6 separate regions of the Homo sapiens genome follow, and regions 1, 2, 4, 5 and 6 are each linked to region 3. Evidence: promoter capture Hi-C in 16 types of primary human blood cells and fetal thymus (Javierre and others, 2016). All regions are on one chromosome and are shown on one strand. Each heading gives the region's core, a stretch centred on a gene start or on the middle of the fragment in contact. The rest is flanking DNA. Distances are from core to core; before and after follow the strand shown. Region 1 overlaps TSG101 (tumor susceptibility 101). Region 2 overlaps SAAL1 (serum amyloid A like 1). Region 3 holds the start of HPS5 (HPS5 biogenesis of lysosomal organelles complex 2 subunit 2). Region 4 has its middle 11 kb from the start of SAAL1. Region 5 overlaps UEVLD (UEV and lactate/malate dehyrogenase domains). Region 6 holds the start of LDHAL6A (lactate dehydrogenase A like 6A).

What was found. Contacts are between HindIII fragments. The CHiCAGO score rates a contact against its expected background, and 5 or more counts as called.
Region 1: a fragment that was not itself captured here is called in contact with the fragment with the promoter of HPS5 in region 3 in 6 of 17 cell types (naive CD4 T cells, naive B cells, monocytes and 3 more); the score reaches 6.7 in naive CD4 T cells.
Region 2: a fragment that was not itself captured here is called in contact with the fragment with the promoter of HPS5 in region 3 in 2 of 17 cell types (total B cells and naive B cells); the score reaches 6.5 in total B cells.
Region 4: a fragment that was not itself captured here is called in contact with the fragment with the promoter of HPS5 in region 3 in 2 of 17 cell types (naive B cells and total B cells); the score reaches 8.9 in naive B cells.
Region 5: a contact is called between a fragment that was not itself captured here and the fragment with the promoter of HPS5 in region 3, in 1 of 17 cell types (neutrophils). The highest score is 5.3, in neutrophils.
Region 6: a contact is called between the fragment with the promoter of LDHAL6A here and the fragment with the promoter of HPS5 in region 3, in 6 of 17 cell types (activated CD4 T cells, non-activated CD4 T cells, naive CD8 T cells and 3 more). The highest score is 9.4, in activated CD4 T cells.

Annotation. Positions count from the first base shown.
Region 1 is chr11:18,500,555-18,504,342 of GRCh38, reverse strand. It overlaps TSG101 (tumor susceptibility 101), which reads left to right. Exons shown (of 10, transcript NM_006292.4): 7 at 1,766-1,857. Among named protein-coding and RNA genes, the nearest start is that of TSG101, 24 kb to the left of the region's middle. The HindIII fragment of the contact is 690 bases long and covers 995-1,684 here.
Region 2 is chr11:18,098,737-18,102,679 of GRCh38, reverse strand. The region is part of intron 2 of SAAL1 (serum amyloid A like 1); the gene reads left to right. Among named protein-coding and RNA genes, the nearest start is that of SAAL1, 5.4 kb to the left of the region's middle. The HindIII fragment of the contact is 8,611 bases long and covers 1-3,943 here.
Region 3 is chr11:18,319,985-18,324,071 of GRCh38, reverse strand. It overlaps HPS5 (HPS5 biogenesis of lysosomal organelles complex 2 subunit 2), which reads left to right and starts at 1,932. Exons shown (of 23, transcript NM_181507.2): 1 at 1,932-2,126. It overlaps GTF2H1 (general transcription factor IIH subunit 1), which reads right to left and starts at 1,505. Exons shown (of 15, transcript NM_005316.4): 1 at 1,332-1,505. RefSeq lists enhancers at 1,528-1,947, 1,958-2,257, 1,148-2,347, 1,485-2,434. The HindIII fragment of the contact is 9,902 bases long and covers 1-4,087 here.
Region 4 is chr11:18,114,668-18,118,991 of GRCh38, reverse strand. It overlaps the pseudogene SAA3P. Among named protein-coding and RNA genes, the nearest start is that of SAAL1, 11 kb to the right of the region's middle. The HindIII fragment of the contact is 2,382 bases long and covers 1,056-3,437 here.
Region 5 is chr11:18,560,056-18,564,369 of GRCh38, reverse strand. All of the region lies in intron 6 of UEVLD (UEV and lactate/malate dehyrogenase domains), which reads left to right. Among named protein-coding and RNA genes, the nearest start is that of UEVLD, 27 kb to the left of the region's middle. The HindIII fragment of the contact is 5,555 bases long and covers 1-4,314 here.
Region 6 is chr11:18,454,592-18,458,442 of GRCh38, reverse strand. It overlaps LDHAL6A (lactate dehydrogenase A like 6A), which reads right to left and starts at 2,587. Exons shown (of 7, transcript NM_144972.5): 1 at 1,637-2,587. The coding sequence starts at 1,762. The HindIII fragment of the contact is 8,824 bases long and covers 441-3,851 here.

The sequences.
Region 1 (3,788 bases), core at 90-2,589, 180 kb before region 3:
AGGACAAGTTATAAAGTGGAAGCTGATAATACAAATAGGAGAATCTTTGAACCACTGCATTGAAAAAGGATTATTGACGATAAACTCAGAAGGAGCTCTTGCTCCAGTGTCCTAGGCTAGCTTTTTTTTTTTTTTTTTTTTTGAGATGGGGGCTTCACTCTGTTGCCCAGGCTGGAGTGCAGTGGCATAATCTCAGCTACTGTAGCCTTGACCTCCTGGGCTCAGGTGATCTTTCAACTTCAGCCTCCCAAGTAGCTGGGACTACAGGTGTGTGCCCCTACACCTAGCTAATTTTTCTATTTTTGTAGAAATGGTTTCGCCATGTTGTCTAGGCTTGCCTTGAACTCCTGGACTCAAGTGATCTACCTGCCTCAGCCTCCCAAAGTGCTAGGATTACAGGTGTGATCCACTGCACCCAGCCTGGGCTAGCTCTTTTTAATCAGTAATTTTAATGCGCTTGTAAAAGGCAAATGTCATAGAATTGATAATTATAGCTAAAATAGGATTAATTGAGATTTATTGTCTAACTAACCAGGTGGCCAGTAATCATCCTATTCTAATTTTCTTCTTCGTTGTAAGGGAAACACTGACTAGTAAGCATTCAGAGGAAAGCAATTAGATCTGAAAATCATGTCCTGAGACAAATGGTTAAAGGAATTAAGAATAGTTAGGGCTGGGTGCGGTGGCTCACAGCTGTAATCCCAGCAGTTTGGGAGGCTGAGGCGGGTGAATCACGAGGTCAGGAGATTGAGACCATCCTGGCTAACATGGTGAAACCCCGTCTCTACTAAAAATACAAAAAATTAGCCGGGTGTGGTGGCGGGCACCTATAGTCCCAGCTACTCAGGAGGCTGTGGCAGGAGAATGGCGTGAACCCAGGAAGTGGAGCTTGCAGTGAGCTGAGATCACACCACTGCACTCCAGCCTGAGCAACAGGGCGAGACTCCGTCTCAAAAAAAAAAAAAAAAAAAATTTAACCTGAAGAAGAGAAGCTTGAGGGAAAAATGTTAGAAGTTCTCAAATATTCGAGTTTTAGGAGTCTCCAAATAGTTGAGTGTCTTCCAAAATGCAAATTTAGGACTCCTATTTATAAATTATATTGAAATGATGTTTAATGTTAAATAGAGAAAGATGACCATTTGTCAGGGATGTTATAAATGATGTGTGTAGATAAGAGATTGTTGGAAAGGTGATTGGAGTAGAATACCTCTAAGGAAAGTTCCTCTGACTTTGATACGAATACATGAATGACAGAAACTGTCCAGAAAGTGAGAAAAAAGGTTTTTTTTTAAACTAAAGATGAGTTTGGTACGAATGTTATCAAAAGAGGAAAAAAACTATTTAAAGACAAGTGTTTTCGGGTTAAATATCCCCAAAGGTTACCAATAAGCCACAGGTACAAATTAAATAGTATCATTTTCCCACAGACTGAGAAATCGGAAAAGTTCTCTCACAAATTACTTGTTGCTTCTGATGCTGTTGGATTGTCCTTAGAAATACTCTAGTTACATTTCCGCTGCTATGAGGGTGACTCTCATATAACTGGGACCAAGCAAGAGCATTTAGCCATTTAAGAGTAAATGCAGTGTCATTAATACAATTTCCATAGAGCTTTACTTGAATAAACACTTGCAGCTCCAAGACTATAAATTCATCAACTGGTAAAACAACCATATGTCAAGCTTAACTTCCTGAATGGGGTTCTTCAAAATACTATAAGGTTGGGTCATCTTAAATGTTAAATGTTTTTTGTTCTTGTCTTTAGTGGTTACCCAGGCTGTCCTTACCCACCTGGTGGTCCATATCCTGCCACAACAAGTTCTCAGTACCCTTCTCAGCCTCCTGTGACCACTGTTGGTAAGTACCCTTGAAAACTTGTGTTTCACCATATAAGCAAAGTCTAACTCCCTGTTGTGAAAAGCACATTTCACTTGTGAATTTTGGACTACTCTTTCTTCTTAGAGGAAAACCTATAATAATGTACTATAATCTTAAACTTGAAGTAAATGACTTAACATATAAATGAACCTTCTACCAGGGCATGAAAATAAATCTGATTAACTCATCAATCTTTCTTTTGATCACATAGTTTTATTTGTGAGCCAAACATGTGTTGAACTATTAGCAGATACATAGATTTTCCTAGCTTGGTTATATGTGAAAACAGATCACCATCATTAAGAGAAGAAAGTAAAATGGGTTAATATGAGCAGGTCAAATCAGACAAATGATTGAAGACCAGTAGTTTTTGCTTTTTGTGTTTGCTTATTAGCGTTACCTGAAATATAATTTTCTTCAACTAAAAAAACTAAGGCAGTGAGAGAATTTCTTTAGACTCCAGCCTTCACCTATGCCTATCTCCCACTACCTGCACCACCATATCTGCCTTCTCCCTGTTACCATAAGTTGGTTATCTTTGCTTCTATCTAAAGCTGATTTCTCCACTAGACCTTATCCCCTCTAATGTACTCAGGGGCATCACTTCAGCAGTTCCTTCCTCTCAAGTTTTGTTCTCTACTGGATGACTCATCAGCACAGAGAACCATGCCCTAAAAAAGCCTTAAAGAGTCCAATTGAGACAAACAAATGGAAAGACATTTCATGCCCATGAAGAATTAATATTGTAAAAATGACTATATTACCCAAAGCAGTCTGTAGATTCAGTGCAGTCTGTGTCGAAATACCAATGTCAGTTTCCATAGAAATAGAAAAAGCTATCATAAAATGTATATGGAACCAAAAAAGAAGCCAAATAGCCAAAGTGATCTTGAACTAAAAGAACAAAGCTGGAAGCATCATACTACCTGACTTCAAAATATATTACAAGGTTATAGTAACCGAAACAGCATGGTATTGGTATAAAAACAGAAACAGACCAATGGAACAGAATAAAGAACCTAGAAATAAATCTACATATTTACAGCCAACTGATTTTCAGCAAAGGTGCCAAGAACATATATTGGGAAAAAGACATTGTTCATAAATGGTGGTGGGAAAACTGGGTATCCATATGCAGAAGAATGAAAACTGGACCCCTATCTTGTACCACATACAAAAATCAACTTGAGATGGATTAAAGACTTAATGTAAGACCCAAAGCTATAAAACTACTAGAAGAATACATAGGGGAAACCCTTCGGGACATTGGCCTAGGCAACCATTTTATAGTTAATATCTCAAAAGCATAGTCAACAAAAATAGACTACTGCGATGATACTAAATTAAAAAGCTTGTGAGCCAGATGCAGTGGCTCACGTCTGTAATCCCAGCACTTTGGGAAGCCAAGGCGGGCGAATCATTTGAGGTGAGGAGTTCAAGACCAGCCTGGCCAACATGGTAAAACCCCGTCTCTCCTAAAAACTAAAAATGCAAAAATCTGGGCGTGGTGGTACACCCCTGTAATCCCAGCTACTTGGGAGGCTGAGGCAAGAGAATTGCTTGAACCTGGGAGGTGGAGGTTGCAGTGAGCTGAGATCGCACCACTGCACTCCACCCTGGGCAACAGAGCGAGACCTTGTCTCAAAAAAAAAAAGCTTCTGCACAACAAAGGAGATAGTCAACAAAGTAAAGAGACGACCTGTTGAGTGGGAGAAAATATTTGCAAAGTACCCATCTGACAAGGAACTAATAAATATACAAGGTATTGAAACCACTCAACAGTAAAACAAACCATTAAAAAGTGGGCAAAGAACATGAATAGACATTTCTTAAAGGAAGACATACAAATGGCCAACAGGTATATGAAAAAATGCTCAATATCACTCATCATCAGGAAAATGCAGATAAAA
Region 2 (3,943 bases), core at 1,299-3,798, 220 kb after region 3:
CCTATGTAATCTTTCTTGTTTTATTACCTGGACTTTAGCAATAGCTTCCTGATTAAAATCCTTGTTTTAGTCTCTTTCACCTCCCTTCTGTCCTCTACATTGCCACCCGTGTTACCTTTTTTTCCGGAAATACAGACTTAATTGTACTCATTTTCTTAAAAATTGTCAATGGCTATTCATTGTTTCAGTCATTTTATTTAAAACTTTATTGAGGTATAATTAACACCAAAAAACTGCATATTGTTTTGAAGTATCATTGACATTGATTTTTTTTTTTTTTTTGAGATGGAGTCTCTATCACCTAGGCTGGAGTACAGTGGTGCGATCTCAGCTCACTGCAATCTCCGCCTCGAGGGCTCAAGTGATTCTCCTGCCATAGCGTCCAGAGTAGCTGGGAGTACAGGTGTGAGCCACCAATCCCTGCGAATTTTTATATTTTTAGTGGAGACAGGGTTTTACCCTGTTGGCGAGGCTGGTCTTGAACTGCTGACCTCAAATGATCCATCCTCCTCGGCCTCCCAAAGTGCTGGGATTATAGGAGTGAGTCACCGCACCCAGCCAATAAACTTTGACGGATGTGTACGCAGATTAAGCTGTCACTGTAATCAGGATACAGCGCATACCCATCACCCCTGAAAGTTTCTTTATGGTCCTTGGTAGTCTCTTCCTCTTGCCTCTCCATTCCTCCATCCCCTCCAGGCAACCACTGATCTGCTTTCTGTCACTACAGATTAGTATGTATTCTAGAGTTTTATATGAATGTGCTCATATGCTTTTTTTGGTCTGGCTCTTTTATACAGCATAATTATTTTGAGATTCATCCATGTTGTGTATATCAGTGGCTTTTTTTTTTTTTTTTATTGCTGAATGGTATTCCATTATATGTATATACCACAATTTATTTTTTACCTGTTGATGAATGTTGGAGTTGTTTAAGGCTTATTACAGATAAAGCTGTTGTGAACTTTTGTATACAAGTGTGTATGGACATATACTTTGTTTTTCCTTGGGTGAATACCTAGAGTGGTGTGTTAGTCCATTCTCATACTGCTATAAGGAAATACCTGAGACTGGGTAATTTATGAAGGAAAGAGGTTTAATTGACTCTCAGTTCAGTATGGCTGGGGAGGCCTCAGGAGACTTACAATCATGGCAGAAGGGGAAGGGGAAGCAGGCACCTTATTCACACGGTGGCAGGAAGGAGAAGTGCGAGCAGGGGAAATGCCAGACGCTTATAAAACTATCAGATCTCATGAGACTCACTCATTATCATGAGAACAGCATGGGGGAAACCACCCCCGTGATTCACTTACCTCCACCTAGTCTTGCCCTTGATACGTGGGGATTATGGGGATTGCAATTCAAGGTCAGATTTAGGAGGGGACACAGAGCCAGACCATATATCAAGTGGCATGGCTGGATCATACGGTAGGTGTATGCTTAACTTTTTAAGAAACTTTCAATTTGTTTTCCTAAGCAGTTTTTTACCATTTTACATAACCACAAGCAGTGTATGAGACATAATTCCAGGTCCAATTTCTCCTCAACCTCACCAACACTTAGTATGGTCAGTCTTCTTAATTTTAGCCATGCTAATAAGTATGTAATGATAGCTCATTGTGATTATAATTTGGACTTCCTTAATTCCTAATGATGAGCATCTTTTCATGTGTTTATTTGTACTCTGTGTATCTTTTTTGGTGAAGTACCTGTTTGAATCTTCTGCCTGCTTTTTAATTGTGTTGTTTTCTTACATTTTCTTCTAAAAGTTTTATAATTTTAGGTTTTACATATAAGTCTGTGATCCATTTTGAGTTGATTTTTGTATAGTATATGGTGCAAGGATGGATGAAGTTTATTTTTTTGCTTATGGATATTTAATTGTTCAAGTTCATTTGTTGAAAAGACGATCCTTTCTCCACTAATTGCTTTTGTGTCTTTGTCAAAAATCAGTTGTCCACATACTTTATAGTTTGAAATCTTTTCTTTTTAAAGATAGACATCAAGCACTATAGAATTTTCCCTAAATATTTATGCTTTACCAGTATTCCACAATTTCTGATATGCTGTGTTTACAATTTTTTTTGAGACAGAGTCTCGCTCTGTATTTTTTGTAGAGATGGGGTTTTGCCATGTTGGCCAGGCTGGTCTTGAACTCCTGGCCTCAAGTGATCCCCCTGCCCCGGCCTCCCAAAGTGCTGGGATTACAGGCGTGAGCCACCATGCCCGCAGAAGTTCAGAATACTTTCTAATATTCTTTACTTTTTCTTTGGTTTATAGGTAAGTTTCAAATATTTGGGAATGTTTCAGTTATCTTTCTCTTGCTGTGGTTGGTGAACACTGAATCCTTTTAAATGTGTTGAGATTTGTTTTATAGCCCAGAATATGGTTTTAAGTAAACCTGAAATATTTACCATGTTGACTTAAAAAGCATGTGTGTTCTGCTGTTGCTGGGTGGAATATCTTATTCTCAATGTCAGATCAGGTTGGTTGAGAGTATTGTTCAGATCTACTTTCTATTCTACAATTATTGATAAATTATGGTTAAACAAATTTTTTTAAAAAGAAATAAAACCTGTGTTTTAAATGAACTCTTAGGGTGAAAGTCTCAGTTTTAAAATTGAGAAAACAGCGCTACTGTTTGAAGGAGGTTATTGGTGCAGGGCAAAGTCATGTTCTTTGGCCTCCTTTTGCTCCCTTACAAGAGGTGCCCTTGAGGCACCACTCAGAACTGAGCTCTCCACTGACAATTGAGGTCCCTGGCGCAAAGTCTGGTGAGTTTATATCTCAGTCTTGTCGCCTATCGTTCTGTAACCATGAATTCAGTGTGCGAGGACCAGAGACCTCCAGATACTTCCTGCACTTTCACGTGTCCATGGGCACTATTCATGCCGCTCTGCTTAGAATGGCTTCCAGCTGGCAAAATCCTTCTCATTGTTTATGGCCCGGCTTCAATGTCACCTCCTCTGTGATGCCACCCCAGACACTCCAGTCAGAATTAACCTGTCTTGTTTTGGTGTTCCCACAGAATTGCTTCACTCTGTTACATGTGTCCTCTGATGGATTTAAATTCCTTCTCATCAAAGCATAATGTCACCCCTTCTGAAATGCCTTCTTTTCAATGTCATGTCTAAAGTAGCCCGCTTTATCTTGGTTTCTAGCACATATCTTATTTTCTTTGTAGCATTTAGAAATTGTGTAGTTTAGTTGTTTTATATTTATTGTTTGTTCATTTCTTTAGAATGAAAATTCCATGGGACTGAGCCCTTATTTAGCTTGTTCACTGATGTATCCCCAGAACCTAAAACAGTGCCTATTAGGTTTTTCAGAAAATATTTGGGGAGTAATGAATGAATAGATGAATACCTGAGAGGTAGCATGTTGTGCTGGTTAAGAACATAGTCTCGCTGGGTACTTGCCTGTATTCCCAGCTATTTGGGAGGCTGAGGCAGGAGGATCACTTGAGCCCAGTAGTTGGAGGCTGCAGTGAGCTATGATAATGCCTGTGAATCTGTGAATAGCCACTGCTCCAGTATGGACAGGATAGCAAGACCCCCATCTCTTTTAAAAAACAAGACCATAGGCTCAAATCAGACTCATGGGTTCAAATCCTAGCTTTGCTCTGCTGAGACTGTATAATCTTGGGCAGGTTGCTACACTTTTTAAACTTCAGTTTGCTTATGAGTGTAATGGGGCTAACAATGATAACTAGTTGATAGAGTTGTTTTGAGAATTAAATGAGATAGCATGCAAGCCACTTCACTGTGCCTGGCATTTAATACTTGTTCAATGAATGTTAATTTTATTACTGTTGGTGTTGATATTGTTAGGCCACCCTTGTGCTACTCCAGGAATTACCATTAAATTTAAAAATTTCTGCATGTGGCAAAGAATTGCCCACAGGACAGCTTGATCACTTACAGTGAAGAGAATCTGCCATTAT
Region 3 (4,087 bases), core at 683-3,182:
TCTCAAAAAAAAAAAAAAATGTCGGCTGAGTGAGGATAGCAGACCATCTCTTTTTTCTCCTTTCTGAATGAGGGACTTAAGCCTGCTAACAGGTACAAAGTTCTCTCCAGAGTTTAGTCCTTCTCTAAGTCCAAGGCCTGCTACTAGAGGTTACCTTCCCTGCGGTTGTGACCTCTCCATCTCAACTGCTCTGGTTTTGTCTTTTAAAAAATCTTAAGGTTGGCAACTTTGGCTTAATTACCTAAGTCCAGTTCAGTGGTTTTCAAACTGTGTTCCAAGGAGTGGCCTCTAGGATAGAAGTTAAGTGGGGTGGTGGGGCCTGGCCCTTTTAAATTTAGTTCCACCAGAGCATGCTGCTTTATATATTGGGTTCCAGATAAAAATTCATGGGGAGAAATTGTTCCACTCCTTTAAAATGTTTGAAAATCACAAGTCTGGATATTGGTTTGTATGGAGTCAATACTCACTGCAAAGCACATTTCATTCAAACCACTCAGTTTTTTTTTTGTTTTTGTTTTTAAGACTGGGTCTTCAAATGGACAAAGGGTGTATTTTTCATATCTTCTTTCCCCATCCCCATTTTACTGATGCTAAAATTGGAGTTTAGGAGTCATTTGGGGCCAGGCACTGTAGCATAATTCTGGCGCTTTGGGAGGTCTAGGCAGGAGAATCGCTTGAGCCCAGGAATTCGAGGTTACAGTGAGCTATTATCACGCCACTGCATTCCAGCCAGGACGACAGAACAAGACTCTGTCTCTTAAAAAAAAATAAGAAAAGTCACCTCCTTATTTAATTTGGCCTTTGAGAACACTGGGGGATTTACAAAATAATTACATATATCCAGGTACTCATGGTCTATTTTTCATCATTACACGACAATCAAATGACCAAAACTAGGAGTGTGTGGACTGGCACGTGTTAAGGTTTTTAAGAGAGGTAAGATTGACAGGTGGAAGCAAAAGGTGTGCAGACAACAAGGTGACAGCTTTTCTCTTACAGAATCCCAGACTCAACAGCACATTTCCTGACGGGAAGGGCTTCTCTGTCTGGGAGAGGCCTCCACTTCATTCTCATAAGCCAAATCTGATCCTGGCTTTGGGTAAACCTGCTCTCAATTTAAGAGCAGGTTTCCTTTAGACAAGTAGATTAGGGGTCGCCTCTTCCTCGCCTCGGGATAAGGGCAAACAAGACGCCAGGCTTGGGCGTTGGGAGGACGGCGACAGCGACGCTGGGAACAGGGGTAGAATCCACGCCGTCCAGCGGCCCCCAGGCCTGTCAGCTCCTCACCCGCCCACCCACCCGCCCGCCTGCATTCTTCGGTCTAAACTTACCAGGTGGAAGCTACAACTCTAGACAGGAAGTAACTAACTGGGTTGGATCCGGTCGAGTTCCGCTGCGCTTCTTAGAGCCGCTGCTGGGAAGAGGCCGAAACCCAGTGGCCGCAGCAGTAGCCACCGCCTCTGTTACTAGGGGGTCTCGCCTCCATCGCTGGCTGCGAGGAGTCTGAGGGCACGTGACCGGAAGTAGCAAGGCGGGCCCTGGGCACGTGACTCAAGAGCGCGGCCGCCATGACACCTTCCGCTAGTTCCCTCCCTCCCCCACGGGTTCCCGCCTGTTTCGTTTCCTCTCTCCGGTCTCGAGCGGCGAAGGGTCCTGGGATCCTGGCTGGCCCAACCATTTGGCCTAGAGCTCCTCCGGTTCCAGTCGGCGCCGTGTCTCCAGCCCGCAACGGCCCTGCGGTCGCAGGCCGTAGAGAGCGTAATCGCGACCGCGGCCTGAGGGGGAGGGACCACGCGGAAGGAGGGGCGTGACTCGTCACGTGATGAGGAAGTGCCGTTAGTAGCGTTGTTTCCAGTCTGCGGCTCTCCTGGATGACGTCAGCAAGGAAGGGGAGGAACGCGAGGGGAGACTGAAGTTCACGTTCCGCTCTTAGTGCGCGGTGAGTTCCCCGGCGCTAAGCCGGGAGACAAGATCCGATCTACTGAGAGCTGCGAGGTACTGCCCTGGATGTGGTGGAGCTGGGCTGGGACCTCCGGGCTGCTGGTCTGTGAGCCTGGCTTTGAAAATTGGTTACTGGGTCTCCTCTCAAGAAATCTCAAGATATTAAAGTTACTGCTGTTAAAAAGGTAGTAGTTCCACTAGGCAAGGAGCTTTTTGTGGGTAGGGATTGTGTTTTGTTCATCCCTGTGTCTCTAGCGGTGTGTTCAGGTCCTGGAACATAGTAGGCACTCAGAATGTTGAATGAATGAATGTATAAATGAGTCAGTCGCCATTTGTCTGAGGCAGAGAGTTGTTTTCTGATCATTTCTTCTTGGATAGAAAGATCCCATTGTGAAAATGAGGCAGTCTGCAACTTCCCCTTCTCATTTCTTCAATTTTTGCTATCTTTCTTACTTCTTTCTCCTCTTCCTCCACGCACCTACTGGGGCAAAAGAGAAACATGTTTGCATTTGATGTGTGAGCAACAAACACTGAACTATTTTACGATAATGGAAAGATGAGATTTGGATTCAGGAGACGCGTATTCTAATCTCAGCTCTACCATTTATGAACTCTGTGATCCTTGGGCAAGCCAGTCTCCCAAAAGTTGTTTCATTTACTTTGGTTAAGCATTTGTCGCCAACTTCTATGTTCTTAGTTTTTGGTAGAGTGCCTTCACAGAAGTAACATTTAAACTCAGCTTTGCAGAAAGGTAGGGTTTTGGTAAATGGGGGAAGATTCCATAAACATCATATATTAAACCATGGAGGCACAGCAAGTTTATGGAATGAAAAAGAAAAAAAGAGTCGAGTCCAATGTAGTTGGAGAATAGAGAGGTTAAGATGGGAAATAAGGCTGGAAAAAGAAGCAGGGAGGAGATAACAGATTTTCAAGAAATAGAGCTGTTGAAGGCTTGTACAATATTATGTATATATTTTTTAAATTTTATTGTGGAAAATTTCAAACGCAGACAAAAGTAGGATAATAAATTGAACCCTCATGTACACTTAACGCAACTTGAACAATTATCAGCATTCTGCTGTTCCTCTTTATACTGTTTGTACATTTCTAGGTACTTTTTATATCCATTGTTGCATTTGATTAATAGCAGCTTTCAATTTGAGCTCAGTTCTACTGTATGTAGCTACTGGCTAAGAAGATTTTATTTATGTAAACAATTTCTTTGGGTTTTAGTTGACCACTTGCTCTGTTGAATCAATGTGTAACATGGCCACTTAAACACAACTAATACTGTTTTTAGGTTGTAATATAGAAACTTAGTGTCTAGATCCAGGAAGTTAGTGTTTCTACTCTATTCTGGGCTCATCTAACTACTTAAGGAGTATTATGCTCAGTTCTAGGCACCTCATTTTTAGGCAAACTACAGTGCCTCTGTAGAAGGTTGACTGGAACAGAGGGTTGGAAAATGTCATGTCAGGAGTGATGAAGAAACTGGGAATGTTAAATTTTTAGAAGACCTGATAATGCTTTTCAAATACAGAAGGATTGTTTTGGAAAGAGACAGCTTGTTCCCTTCAGCTGTAGAAGCTACATACAATTAGGAATAATGGTAGAGCTCTAAGTGATCAGGCTTCAGCATAGTATTAAAAAGAACCTTATAATAGTGAGCCCTTTGGAGGACTGGAATTGGCAGCTTCATGAGAGTGAGTGCTTTCTTTCCATGGCTGAAAATGTTCAGGGATCTAGGGCAAAACTAATTTCTGAATTAGGTGGACATGTTCACTGAATTACCTATGAATCTTTTTCCATCTTGAGAATTCTAGGAAGTAGGGCTCATGTGCGATCTTGAAAGCTGGGTATGTTTGGATAAGAAAATCTGGAAGGGAAGCAGTCATTTCAGGGAGAGTAAACATAAAGTATAAAGTTGAAGTTGGTTTAACACTGTCATTCAGCAGCTTCTCTGAGAATTGGCATTGCTTATGCTGTTTTTATTTTCCATTCTCATTTCTGTTAAATTCTTTTTTTCTTTTCAGTAGAACTTACTAGGTGTGTCCCCCTGCACACCCCCGCATTATATTATAACTTCCAGGACATTCTCTTTTTACCGAGATTAAGGCAAAATGACCTACTCAGAGTTTCTTTGTTT
Region 4 (4,324 bases), core at 997-3,496, 210 kb after region 3:
CACACTCAGCTAATTTTGCTTTTTGTATTTTTAGTAGAGATGGGGTTTCACCATTTTGCCCAGGCTGCTCTCGAACTCCTGACCTCGTGATCCACCCACCTGGGCCTTCAAAATTGCTGGGATTACAGGCGTGAGCCACCGCGCCCGGCCAATGTTATTATCTTCAAAGAAAAATTAGGAATGTCTTTGTTCTCCAAATATTGGGATATTTGCACACTCCCAAGTCTGGGTCTGTTTAGTAAACATTACGAATTTGTTCCCTTAACTGTAAACATCTAGAGGTTAGGAATGCCTAACTTTCTGAGCACGCAGCCTAGCAATCTCAGCCTCATTTTCCTAGCCCTCATGCCAAATAGAGTCGCTCTGGTTCAAACGTCTCTGACACTATGTGAAAATAAACCTTGGTCCTTATAACTGTAGTTCTAATTGGTAATCTTACTTACTAATGTCTTAATAATAGGTTGCCTTGGTAACAATATTGTAATTAATATTTCTGTCTCCTGGAAAATATAAATTATTATGCGTTTTCTTGGTTAAGGTGGAAGCTCTAAAATTAATTAAATGCTTTACACGTGCCCAGAATTAACCCAAGTCCCTGTCAGCATTAATCATTTAATCCTCACAACAACCCTACAAGGGAGTTGTATTTTTCTGCATCCTTCCTATATCTACTATTCTGGTAACTAGGATTCATTAAATGTGAATTTTTTGAGGGTAGTGATTTTGTATCATTATTTTCTTCATTTTATATTTAGGGAATATAAAGTTCTTCCCGCTGGTCTTCTAAGACTGGGGCTTAGGTCTGAGATGTCATTCTTAGTCATGATACCTGTGGACTTTTGGGCTTTTCTGATTTTTGTTTTTCTAATTCCTAATAGAATTAAGCCTTAGTATTCTCCTCTTCTACTTAAATTAATTGTAACTTAAAAGAATGGAGGTGTCTTGGGCCTCTCAATCAGCCTGGTCACACAAGGTTATCAGAGTAGTGCTACCATCTGATTTACTGTTCAATCCAGGCCATTGTAGACAATGAAAAGATGTGCCACTATTAAGCTTGGACAATAGACACTGATCTCATGCAAACCAGCACACGTAGTCACTTGTAAGAGACTGTTGGAAAATCCCTTTAAGGCCTGGGGACTCTGATATCATGACAGGAAATCTTTCTTTTTCAGGAGAAACAAGTGAAAAGAACTGACTGCCGTTATTGTCTATTATTCTCAGCTTGGCACCATAAGAAACTGCGTGTACCTTCCCGGAAGGCAGAATACATTAAGTAACAAAGGAAGAAAACAGGCAAGGCTTGTCAAAGTCCCTGTGAGGAGTTCCTCTTGGTATCTAGAAATCATACTCGCTTTCTTGCTCTTTTTCCTGTGAGTCAGTGTGTCACTTTGTCACCCAGGCTAGAGTGCAGTGGTGTGATTATGGCTCACCATAGCCTCCAACTCCTGGGCTCAAGCAGTCCTCCTGCCTCAGCCTCCTGAGTAGCTGGGACCACAGGTGCATACTACCACACCCCGCTAATTTAAAAAATATATATACAGATATATAGTGGAGATGGGGTCTTGCTATGTTTCCCAGGTTGGTCTTGAGTTCCTGGCCTCGAGTGATCCTTCTGCCTCAGCCTCCCAAAGTGCTGGTATTATAAGCATGAGCCAGTGTCTCCACGCCACTTGCTTTCTAATACTTCTGTATTAGTCCGTTCTCATACTGCCATAAAGAAATGACTGAAACTGGGTACTTTATAAAGAAAAGAGGTTATATTGGTTCATGGTTCTTTAGTCTGTACAGGAAGCATAGTGGCTTCTGCTTCTGGGGAAGCCTCAGGAAACTTTCAATATGGCAAAGGCAGAGCGGGAGTGAGGCATCTCATATGGTGGGAGCAAGGACAAAAGAGAGTGAGGGGGGAGGTACTGCACACTTTTAAATAACCAGATCTCAAAAGAATTCACTCACTATCACGACGACAGTACCAAGGGGGATGCTGTTAAACCTTTCATGAGAAACAGCCTTCCTGATTCAATCACCGCCCTCTAGGCTCCACTCCCAACATTGGGAATTACAATTGAACATGAAATTTGGGTGGGGACACAGATCCAAACCATATCAACTTCTATCAAAGAAGAGAATGACTTGAATAAAACGAGAAAGTAGATTTCCAGCATTGAATGGTTCCAAAGGGAGTAAAATAATTGTGACAGGATGTGATCATTGGCCCTCAATTTCTGCCTGAAGAAGAGTAGGAAAAAGGAGGTCTGGACATCACATGCCCTGCTTTATGAAGCAGCTCCTCCAAGTACACCATGACCAGTGGCTGTGGATGGTTGACAACTCCCCTCCTCTTCCCCCTCTTCTACTGTCTACTCCTGGGACCAAGTGAGCCACGCCAGCTCAGATACTACACTGACCACAGGGAATCCCACCTTTTCCAAGGAATGGAAGTTGTGTAGGGAATATTCAAATGTTGCTTAGCATTGCCTTAGATAAGAACCAAAGGGACAGGGAAATCCTCTGACAGCTATCTGCCTTATAACTTTCATTTTACTGTGCCTAAAATATGCTCAGAACCCAGAAAGAGGCATAATTCCTAATTTTGGCAGGCTCTAATCTAAAATAATGATTCTCAAACATGGTGTGACTTTTGTCTATTTGCTTTATCCTGGGTCACTGCTCCTCTTCTGTCAGATACTGGGATTCCAATGAGACAAATGGAAATGGAGACGTAGACCCTCTGACCTTCTATCTTTTATCTATACACATACACCTGTGTGTGTGTGTGTGTGTGTGTGTGTGCGTGTGTAAAACCGAGTGGGTTTTTTTCTTGGAATGAAAGAATGGACTAACATTACAAAAAATAAAAACTTGAAACAGAATGTGTATTATCCTTGGTTGTGTTTCCTTGGCCCTGCAGCAGGATGAAGCTCTCCACTGGCATCATTTTCTGCTCCCTGGTCCTGGGTGTCAGCAGCCAAGGATGGTTAACATTCCTCAAGGCAGCTGGCCAAGGTGAGGTCCACAGGATAGGGGGCAGGAGGCTGCTTCTGGCTGCCCCCAGGATGCAGCTGAGCAGAGGCCACATCCCCACTGGGCAAAGGTGCTAGTGATGCCACAGATGGATAGAGAAGGGGCATGGTTTTTCATAAGCGTGGTTCCTCATGCTTTTCTGGACAGCTTTGACACTCTTCTATGAGGATCCTCCAGCCGAGGTCGCATAAGGTGTGAGCTGCCTCTTTTCAGCAGGACCATGAGAGAGATGTGGAGTTGAGGGGTGCATGTTCCCATAATACCGGTGGGGCTCTACTGCCCCCTAGTGGGAAATCTGGGACAGTTCATGTCTATGTCTCCTGGGAAGCCAGGAAGCAGGTGGATCAAAAGTGTGAGGCGAGTCCATGGGGAAGCTGAACGGAGCCAACCGTCCCCATAAAAACAACCAAGCTTAGCTGAGATTTTAATACGTACTAGGCACTGTTTAAATGTACTAATGAATTGGTTTCCATCATTTAGTCCTATGATGCAAGCAGCATTATCCCTTAACAGAGAAGCTAACACACACACACACACACACACACTAACACACACACACACACACACACACACACAAACCCCAAGATACGTAAAGAAGTTCCAAAGCAGAGCAGGATTAACCCAGGCAGTCTTGCTCTGCAGAACTTGCTCTTAATCAAGGTACTCTGCTGCTTTCAAAACAAGAGTTTCGGATTTGTGAACACATAGCTCATCCTTTATCTAAGAAATGGCAAATAGGATGTGGTGCCTTTGGAAGGTAAGTCTAGCTCCACTTATCCCAGTAAAACCTACAGTGAATTACCTTGATGGTGGTTCTACTGGGGCTTATATATGGCCAGGAAACTGCTAGCAAGAGAAATATACCCCGAGGGCTGGGCACAGTGGCTCACACCTGTAATCCCAGCACTTTGGGAGGCTGAGGTGGGCAGATCACCTGAGGTCAAGAGTTCGAGACCAGCCTGGCCAACATGGCGAAATCCTGTCTCTACTAAAAATACAGAAATTAGCCGGGTGTGGTGGCATGCGCCTATAATCCCAGCCTCTCGGGAGGCTGAGGGAGAAGAATTGCTTGAACTCAGGAGGCAGAGGTTGCAGTGAGCTGTGATCACACCACTGCACTCCAGCCTAGGAGACAGAGCAAGACTCCATCTAGAGAGACAGAGAGAGAGAGAGAGGGAGAAATATACCCCACTAGCCATAATAAAGTGGCAAAATTTTGTTTTCAGAATGCAGTATTTTAAATTTCAGGTATTATTATTTTTCTGAGTCTCTGAAAAATGGTTTTAAGGATTTGCTTTTA
Region 5 (4,314 bases), core at 1,501-4,000, 240 kb before region 3:
ACCTGCCTGCCTCCCTCCAGAGCCTAGTATCATGATAACAGCATGTCTTTTGTCATTTGAGAGATGTAGCCCTGAATAGAATAGCTGTACCTCTATATATTTATTTGGTGGCTGGCATTAGTTTTTCTTTTCTATATATATTTGATTGTTTTGCCATCTAAATTCTTCCCTTTCCATTTAAGACTCACATATGTCTTGGAGGTGGGTTCTACTGCAGCAAATAATTAAATTATATCCATGGAGCTAGAATATCTTAAAAGCTGGCTGCTCAGAGTTAAATATGCCAACTTTTGGCATGCTGTAGTTTTATTTCTTTCACCCTCCATTTGAATACACTATCACCTCTTTTTTTTTTTTTTTTTTTTTAGGTGGAGTCTCGCTCTGTTACCCAGGCTGGAGTGTAGTGGTACAATCTTGGCTCACTACAGCCTCCGCCTCCTGGGTTCAAGCGATTCTCCTGCCTCAGCCTCCAGAGTAGCTGGGACTACAGGCATGCGCCACGACGCCCAGCTAATTTTTGTATTTTTAGCAGAGACAGGGTTTTGCCATGTTGGCCAGGCTGGTCTCGAACTTCTGACCTCAAGTGATCCACCTGCCCTGGCCTCCCAAAGTGCTGGGATTACAAGTGTGAGCCACCGTACCTGGCCTGCTATTACCTCTTAATTAGAATTTGAGTTGTATTCAGTCTTTTGTCACTAAATAAATGCTTCTATAAACATTTCAAGTTGCTTGTTTTCTCATCTGAATTTTTATTTGGTCATACATTATTTTATTTTATTTAGACAGGGTCATGTTCTGTTGCACAGGCTGGAATGCAGTGGTGCAATCTCAGCTTACTGCACCCTCCACCTCCCCAGCTCAAGCCATCCTCCCACCTTAGCCTCCCAAGTAGCTGGGCTTACAGGCGCCAGCAACCATCCCCACTAATTCTTGTATTTTTTTGTAGAGACAGAGTTTCACCATGTTGCCCAGGCTGGTCTTGAATTCCTGGGCTCAAGCAATCTTCCTGCCTCAGCCTCCCAAAGTGCTGGGAGTACAAGCATGCCCCACTGCACCCGGCCTGGTTGTACATAATTTTAAAAAATAGTACTAGTGAGTCAGAGGGCATGAATGGTTTTTATAGCACTTATGACATAGTGCCAGATTGCTCTTTGGAAAGGCAGAACTAATTTATGCTGCTAATAACATGCACATCAACCTGATTTTTGACATCCCTAACAGTACTAAGTTTTATTTATTTGTAATTATTTGTCTTTTTTTTTTTTTGGTAAGCACAAGAAGGCATCTGAAAGTCTGAAAGTCATGGTTTTTCATTTTTGTTTTTGAGACCAGGTTTCTCTCTGTAGCCCAAGTTGGCATGCACTGGTATGATCATGGCTTACTGCGGTCTCTATCTCCTGGGCTTAAGAGATCTTCCCACCTCAGCCTCCTGAGTAGCTGGGACCACAGGGGTGTGCCACTACACCTAGGTAATTTTTAGTTTTTTTGTAGAGATAGGTCTCCCTGTGTTGCCTAGATTGGTCTTGAACTCCTGGTTCAGACTATCTTCCTGCCTTGGCCTCCCAAAGTGCTGGGATTACAGGCATGAGTCACTGCTCCTGGCCATGTTTTTAAACTGTTAGAAGAATCTCACTGTCATTATTTGTCTGTGAATTGTCTGGGTGGAAAATTTGCCGTTTTTCAGCTGGGCCCGGTGGCTTACACCTGTACTCCCAGCACTTTGGGAGGCCAAGGCAGGAGAATCAGTTGAGCCCAGGAGTTTGAGACCAGCCTGGGCGACACAGCGAGATCCCCATTTCTACAAAAAAAATTTTTTTTTTTTTCTTTGGAGATGGAGTCTCGCTGTGTCTCCCAGGCTGGAGTGCAGTAGCATGATCTCAGCTCACTGCAACCTCCATCTCCCGGGTTCAAGTGATTCTCCTACCTCAGCCTCCCGAGTAGCTGGGATTACAGGCGTGTGCCACTACACCCAGCTAATTTTTGTATTTTTAGTAGAGAGGGGGTTTCGCTATGTTGGCCAGGCTGGTCTCGAGCTCTTGACATCAGGTGATCTGCCTGCCTCAGCCTCCCAAAGTGCTGGGATTACAGGTGTCAGCCACTGCCTCCACCCTACAAAAATTAAAAATTAGCTAGGTGTGGTGGTGCACACTGGTAGTCCCAGCAACTTGGGTGGCTGAGGATTGCTTGAGCCTGGGAGGTTGAGGCTGCAGTGAGCTGCGATTGTGCAGTTGCACTCTAGCCTGGGCGACACAGTGAGACCCTGTCTCAAAAAAAAATTCTGTTTTTCTTTTTAGACGTTAATATTTTGATACAAAGTACAATATTCATAGGCCACTATTATGACTGCAACAGTGATAGTACTCATAATAGTGGCAACAAAAGTAGTGGTGGTAGCAGCAGCAACTAACCTTTACACAATGCTTATTAGGTACCAGGCACTTGTCTAAACACTTGACTCTTTTTTTTTTCTTGAGATGGAGTCTCGCTCAGTCACCCAGGCTGGAGTGCAGTGGCGCAAACTTTTTTTTTTTTTTTTTTGAGACGAAGTCTCGCCCTGTTCCCCAGGCTGGATTGCAGTGGCGTGATCTCAGCTCACTGCAACCTCCTGCCTCCTGGGTTCAAGTGATTCTCCTTCCTTAGCCTAAGATTACAGGCACCCGTCACCACACCTGGGTAATTTTTGTATTTTTAGTAGAGACGGGGTTTCACCATGTTGGCCAGGCTGGTCTTGAGCTCCTGACCTCAGGCAATCTGCCCGCCTCGGCCTCCCAAAGTGTTGGGATTACAGGCGTGAGCCACCGTGCCTGGCCAGTAGTGTGACCTTGACTCACCACAACCTCTGCCTCCCGGGTTCAAGCGATTCTCCCACCTCAGCCTCCCAAGTAGCTGGGATTACAGGTACGTGCCACCATGCCTGGTTAATTTTTGTACTTTCAGTTGACATGGGATTTCACTGTGTTGGTAGGCTGGTCTGGAACTCACTCCTGACCTCAGGTGATGCACCAGCCTCAGCCTCCCAAAGTGCTGGGATTACAGGCATGAGCCACCGTGCCTGGCCCACTTGACTCATTTTTACAACAACCCTTTGTTTAGGTACTGTTATTACTGACATTTTACAAATGAAGAAACAAAGGCATAGGGCGGTTACCCAAGTTGCCCCAAATTACACTGTTAATAAATGATGAAGCGAGAATTTAAAGACCAGGTAATCTGTTTATCAGAGCCTGTATTCTAGATCCTTACTAAACAAAGTGTGGCTTTCAAACTAGCAGCATTGGTACCACCTGAGTTCTTGCTAGCAATGCATAATCCAGGACCCTTCCCAGACCTACTGAAACAAAATCAGCATTTTTTTTTTTTTGAGATGGAGTCCCGCTCTGTCCCAGGCTGGAGTGCAATGGCGCAATCTCCACTCACTGCAACCTCCACCTCCCGGCTTCAAGAGATTCTCCTGCCTCAGCCTCCCGAGTAGCTGGGACTACAAGCATGCGCCACCAGGCCCGGCTAATTTTTGTATTTTTGGGAGAGACAGGGTTTCACCATGTTGGCTACGGGGCTCTCAAACTCCTGAACTCAGGCAACCAACCTGCCTTGGTTTCCCAAAGTGCTCAGATTACAGGGCTGAGCCACCATGCCCGGCCAAAATCTGCATTTTAATAAAATCCCTGGTGATAATATATGCTTCACGGATTGATTACATGGTGACATTTTAAAACTTTTTCAATCTCTGCTATAAACCACTATATTGTCTCGTTGTTACTGATGAACGTTTTGTTGTTCCTAGTCTTATGAATATCCTTAATATTGTACTCTTTTACACATGTACTGATAAATTTGTAGGATGATTTCTATAAATGAATTGATGGATTCAAGAAGTTAATGTTTTAAATTTTTGATAGAAAATTGTCAAATTATCTTTTATTAATTATACCAGTTTATTCCCATACCCATAATATGTAAGAATACTTATTTTCCTACAACTACTGCTAAACTTTTGGATTTTTTTGTGCCTTATAAATGAAAATGGTAACTCATAGTTTTCTTTGCATTTTCCTTATGGGTATGGTTAGCAATAAAATTAATAACTATGTTTTAGAGGGGATTACTATATGCAAGCCCTGTGTCACATAATTAATCCTTACAACCTCATAAAGTAAGGCCGAATTCAGTGACTGTCCTGGTGTTACATAGCTAATACATAGTGTAGCAGGGTTATTTTCTTTCTCTCTCTGTGTGTGTGTGTGTGTGTGTGTGTGTGTGTGTGTGTGTGTGTGTGTGTAGAGACGGGGTTTTGCCATGTTGCCCAGGCTGGTC
Region 6 (3,851 bases), core at 1,338-3,837, 130 kb before region 3:
GAAGGCTCTGCTTCATACCTTTACAGCAGGGAGCACCACTGAGTTTGAACAATGGGTGCTACAGGTGGCATTTTAAGCCTCCAGAGGTAAGCCACCAGTGGAGCCTACAGATGCTCTTACATGCCCGGTGGGGCCTGTGCCTCCCATCACCAGTTGCAATGGAATGCACTCCTGCCCTTCTGTACTCCTATCCACCACCTCCACCTGAGATCTATCTAGGACCTCCCATCATGGATAGGGCCATGAAACAAGTGCAGCCCCATGGCACTGCCCTATCCTGGGCCCTGGAACCTCCCATCAGAAGCCCCAAAATTCCCTCCACTCCTGCAACCAAAGCCAAGCAGCAGCTGGCAGAGGTAGGAGTTCCAGGGATATGGCTCAGTCCCTCCCTGAATGGCCCTTCAAAGCAGAGGTGATAAATAAATCTTTTATTTCAAGCTTTTCTATATATATTACCTGTATACTTATCTATTCATGCAATTAGAGATAGTCTATTCCTTTTTTCTCCTCTAAAAAGTAGGTCTAATATTTACTTTCCAGGGTTGTAATATTGGATAATGCATACAAACATACTGTTATCATTATTACTGATGTTAAAAAAAATGTGTTGGGCAAAGCAAGGTGGCTCACATCTGTTATCTCAGCACTTTAGGAAGCCGAGACCTCCTGCTTGAGGCCAGGAGTTTGAGAGCAGCCTGGGCAATACGTGGAGGCCCCATCAAACAATCAATGAGTCACAGATGTGTTGGTTTTCACGTGTGTGTATTCTTCATTAGCAGTGAGGACACTGCTGATAAAGGCATTACAATAGGTAGGACAAAATGAATCATGGGGAATTTGTATGGCTGGCAGGAGCAGCAGTTGGCTGTGGCTGCTGTCCTTAGTGCCATAAGGTCACTATGTCATCTAGATATGAAACCCAGAGGCAATCCTTTAAATCCAATGACTCATGCCAGGATTAAAGGTTATATAAAAGATGGCTAAAACATTTTACAGATATTTCATTAATAAAAGTATAGCTCAGAGTGTCTTATGATTTATTAAAACTTTATGGTAATAAAGTTCATATCAGGGTAATATTCTTAGAAAGGGGTCAGAATCTTTTTTTGGCCTCTGTCTATAGCCATAAAACTTTATCAGCTGTATCAATACTAAGAACAGCTAAACACTAAAACTAACCTAACATGAATAAGGAACGAAGGGAAATAAAGATATACAGACTAGGAAATGGGAGAGAGATATTTAAATGAAAAAAGATTATTGTATTTGGTACTCGTAGGCTGCCTACCATCACTGACACGCTTGTATACTCTTTTCTGCCACCTATTTCTCTCCAGTTTGTTTTGTGAGCTGAGTTTCCAAATCAAGCAAAGGGGTACCTCATATTGTCATTACGTGAAAGTGAAATGTCAACATACTTTCACAGAGATGCTTCTAACCCACATGATATCATCATACAATTTTTAAAAAGGAGCGCCCTCTGGGTGAACAACTAAAAAAAGGGCACCTTTTCCTCTGATGCCCCTCACACTGGCTCCCCACTCACCACCTTGAACTGGACACAACCTCCACAACCATACGCTGTGGCCTCGCCTCCAACTGAGGTGAACCCTGTGGTGCAGAGCACACAACTTACTTTTAATAAGATGCTGATAGCACAAGCCACACCAACCGATCCAGTTCCTACAATGGAGATCTTATTGTGATGAATGGCCTCCTCTTCCGCGAAATTCTTAATAAGTTCACTCTTGATAGTTGCCATCTTGGAAACCTAACAGTGAAGACAAATTGCACAGCCATTTCCAAGACCTGGAATTGGAAATGGCTTGGAATTCCAAGACCTGCGGTGAGAGCGCGTATAGAGAACTCCTGGGCCCGTGTGGAAGGAGGTGCTGCAGACACACAAAAGACCGACAAATCTGACCAGCAAAGAAGCTGGGTAGGTTCTGGCCAGGCAGCTCAGCATCCATGAAGCGGACCAGGGGAAGGAGAAGGAAGCGTGAGTACAGTTAAGAGGAATTAAGAGAGAGAGAGAGGAAAGGAACAGGGGTTGCTCCACCAAACATGAAACTACAGCTGGGACGGCACTCCGTCCCGCAGCTGACCCCCTTTTCTCTCCCCTTTACCCTGCTGTTCCCCCAACCTCCAGTTCTCAGCTCCAGGACTGCGCCCGGGGTCCGCAGGTCCAGGTGAGAGGTACTTCTGGCCACACTCACAGGGGTGAAGGGCCACCCGCGCCCGAGCAGGTCACATGCCGCCTGGCGGAGACACAGAACCATCCTTGGGCAAAAACAATTCGCTCCCGCGGCGCCCGCTCTCTGGCTGCTCCCCAGGACTCTTGCAGCCCAGCTCATGGCCACTCACTCAAGAGGTGAAGAAAGAGAATGGAGGAAAATGGCGTTAAAGCTCATCGAGGCACGAAGGAGATGAACCGCCGACTAACAGACGCCGGGTCGCCCCCTTACTGCAGCTGCGCGGACCGCACCCAGCTCGTGCAGGCATCGCAGGTGTGATGCTTGGCAGGTGTGATGCTTGGCAGGTGTGATGCTTGGCAGGTGTGATGCTTGGCAGGTGTGAGGCCGGAAGCGGGCTGCGAAGCACCGCGCCTGCGCCTCTGCCTGCCCGCCCCGCCCCCGCGTGCGGGTGGGCGGGCTGCGGTGTAGGTGGTTGGCCGGCTGCAGAAGGCGCACGAGGTGCTGCAGGCACAACGCAGTGCAGGGCCTCTGCTGTTGGGCGGAGTTGTTTGCCTAGAACCCATCCACCAGAGAGCCCAAGTAATTTTATTTCTAACCAAACCTTGTCTGGATGTATCTGAAAAGGACTGTTTGACTCTCACGTGAAAATTTTCCCCCAGCCCTGTAGGAGAAAGGGACCTCAAGATTAACTTTTACCACCTCAAATGTGAGCTAAAGTAGAAAAAGTAAAATTTTAAAACTCTGGGCCGAGCGTGGTGGCTCACGCCTGTAATCCCAGCACTCTGGAAGGCCAAGGCGGGCGGATCACCTGAGGTCAGGGGTTCGAAATCAGCCTGGCCAACATCGTGAAACCACGTTTCTACTAAAAATACAAAAATTAGCTGGACGTGGTGGTGCACCCCTGTAATCCCAGCTACCTGGGAGGCTGAAGCACAAGAATTGTTTGTGAACCTGGGAGGCGGAGGTTGCAGTAAGCCGAAATTGTGCCACTGCACTCCAGCCTGGGTGACGGAGTGAGACCCTGTCTCAAAACAACAACAAAACTCTGTATGCAAAAGGAATTTGGAAATAAGATATGAAACCTGAAGAATTTGATGAATGCAGTGCCAATTGATAACCATTTTTACAAGATGAAGGGAAAGCTCAATTCATTATTAAGTGGTTAAATGTAGAATCCACACTTTGGGAGGCCGAGGCGGGTGGATTAGCTGAGGTCAGGAGTTCGAGACCAGCCTGGCCAACATGGCGAAACCCCGTCTCTACTAAAAATACAAAAATTAGCCGGGTGTGGTGGCACGCACCTGTAATCCCAGCTACTCAGGAGGCTGGGGCAGGAGAATCGTTTGAACCCGGGAGGCGGAGGTTTTGGTGAGCCGAGATCATGCCACTGCCCTCCAGCCTGGGTGACAGAGTGAGACTCCGTCTCAAAAATAAAAAACAAAAATGTAGAATTGAAAATCAGTCTGGAATAAACCAAGGTTTCTACTTCTCCCACCACATTTTACCTAATTGTTTTCTCATTTGTGAATCATAATACGTAATTTTGATGGTTAATACTGAGTGTCAACTTGATTGGATTGAAGGATGCAAAGTGTTGAACCTGGGTGTGTCTGTGAGGGTGTTGCCACAGGAAATTAACATTTGAGTCAGTAGGCT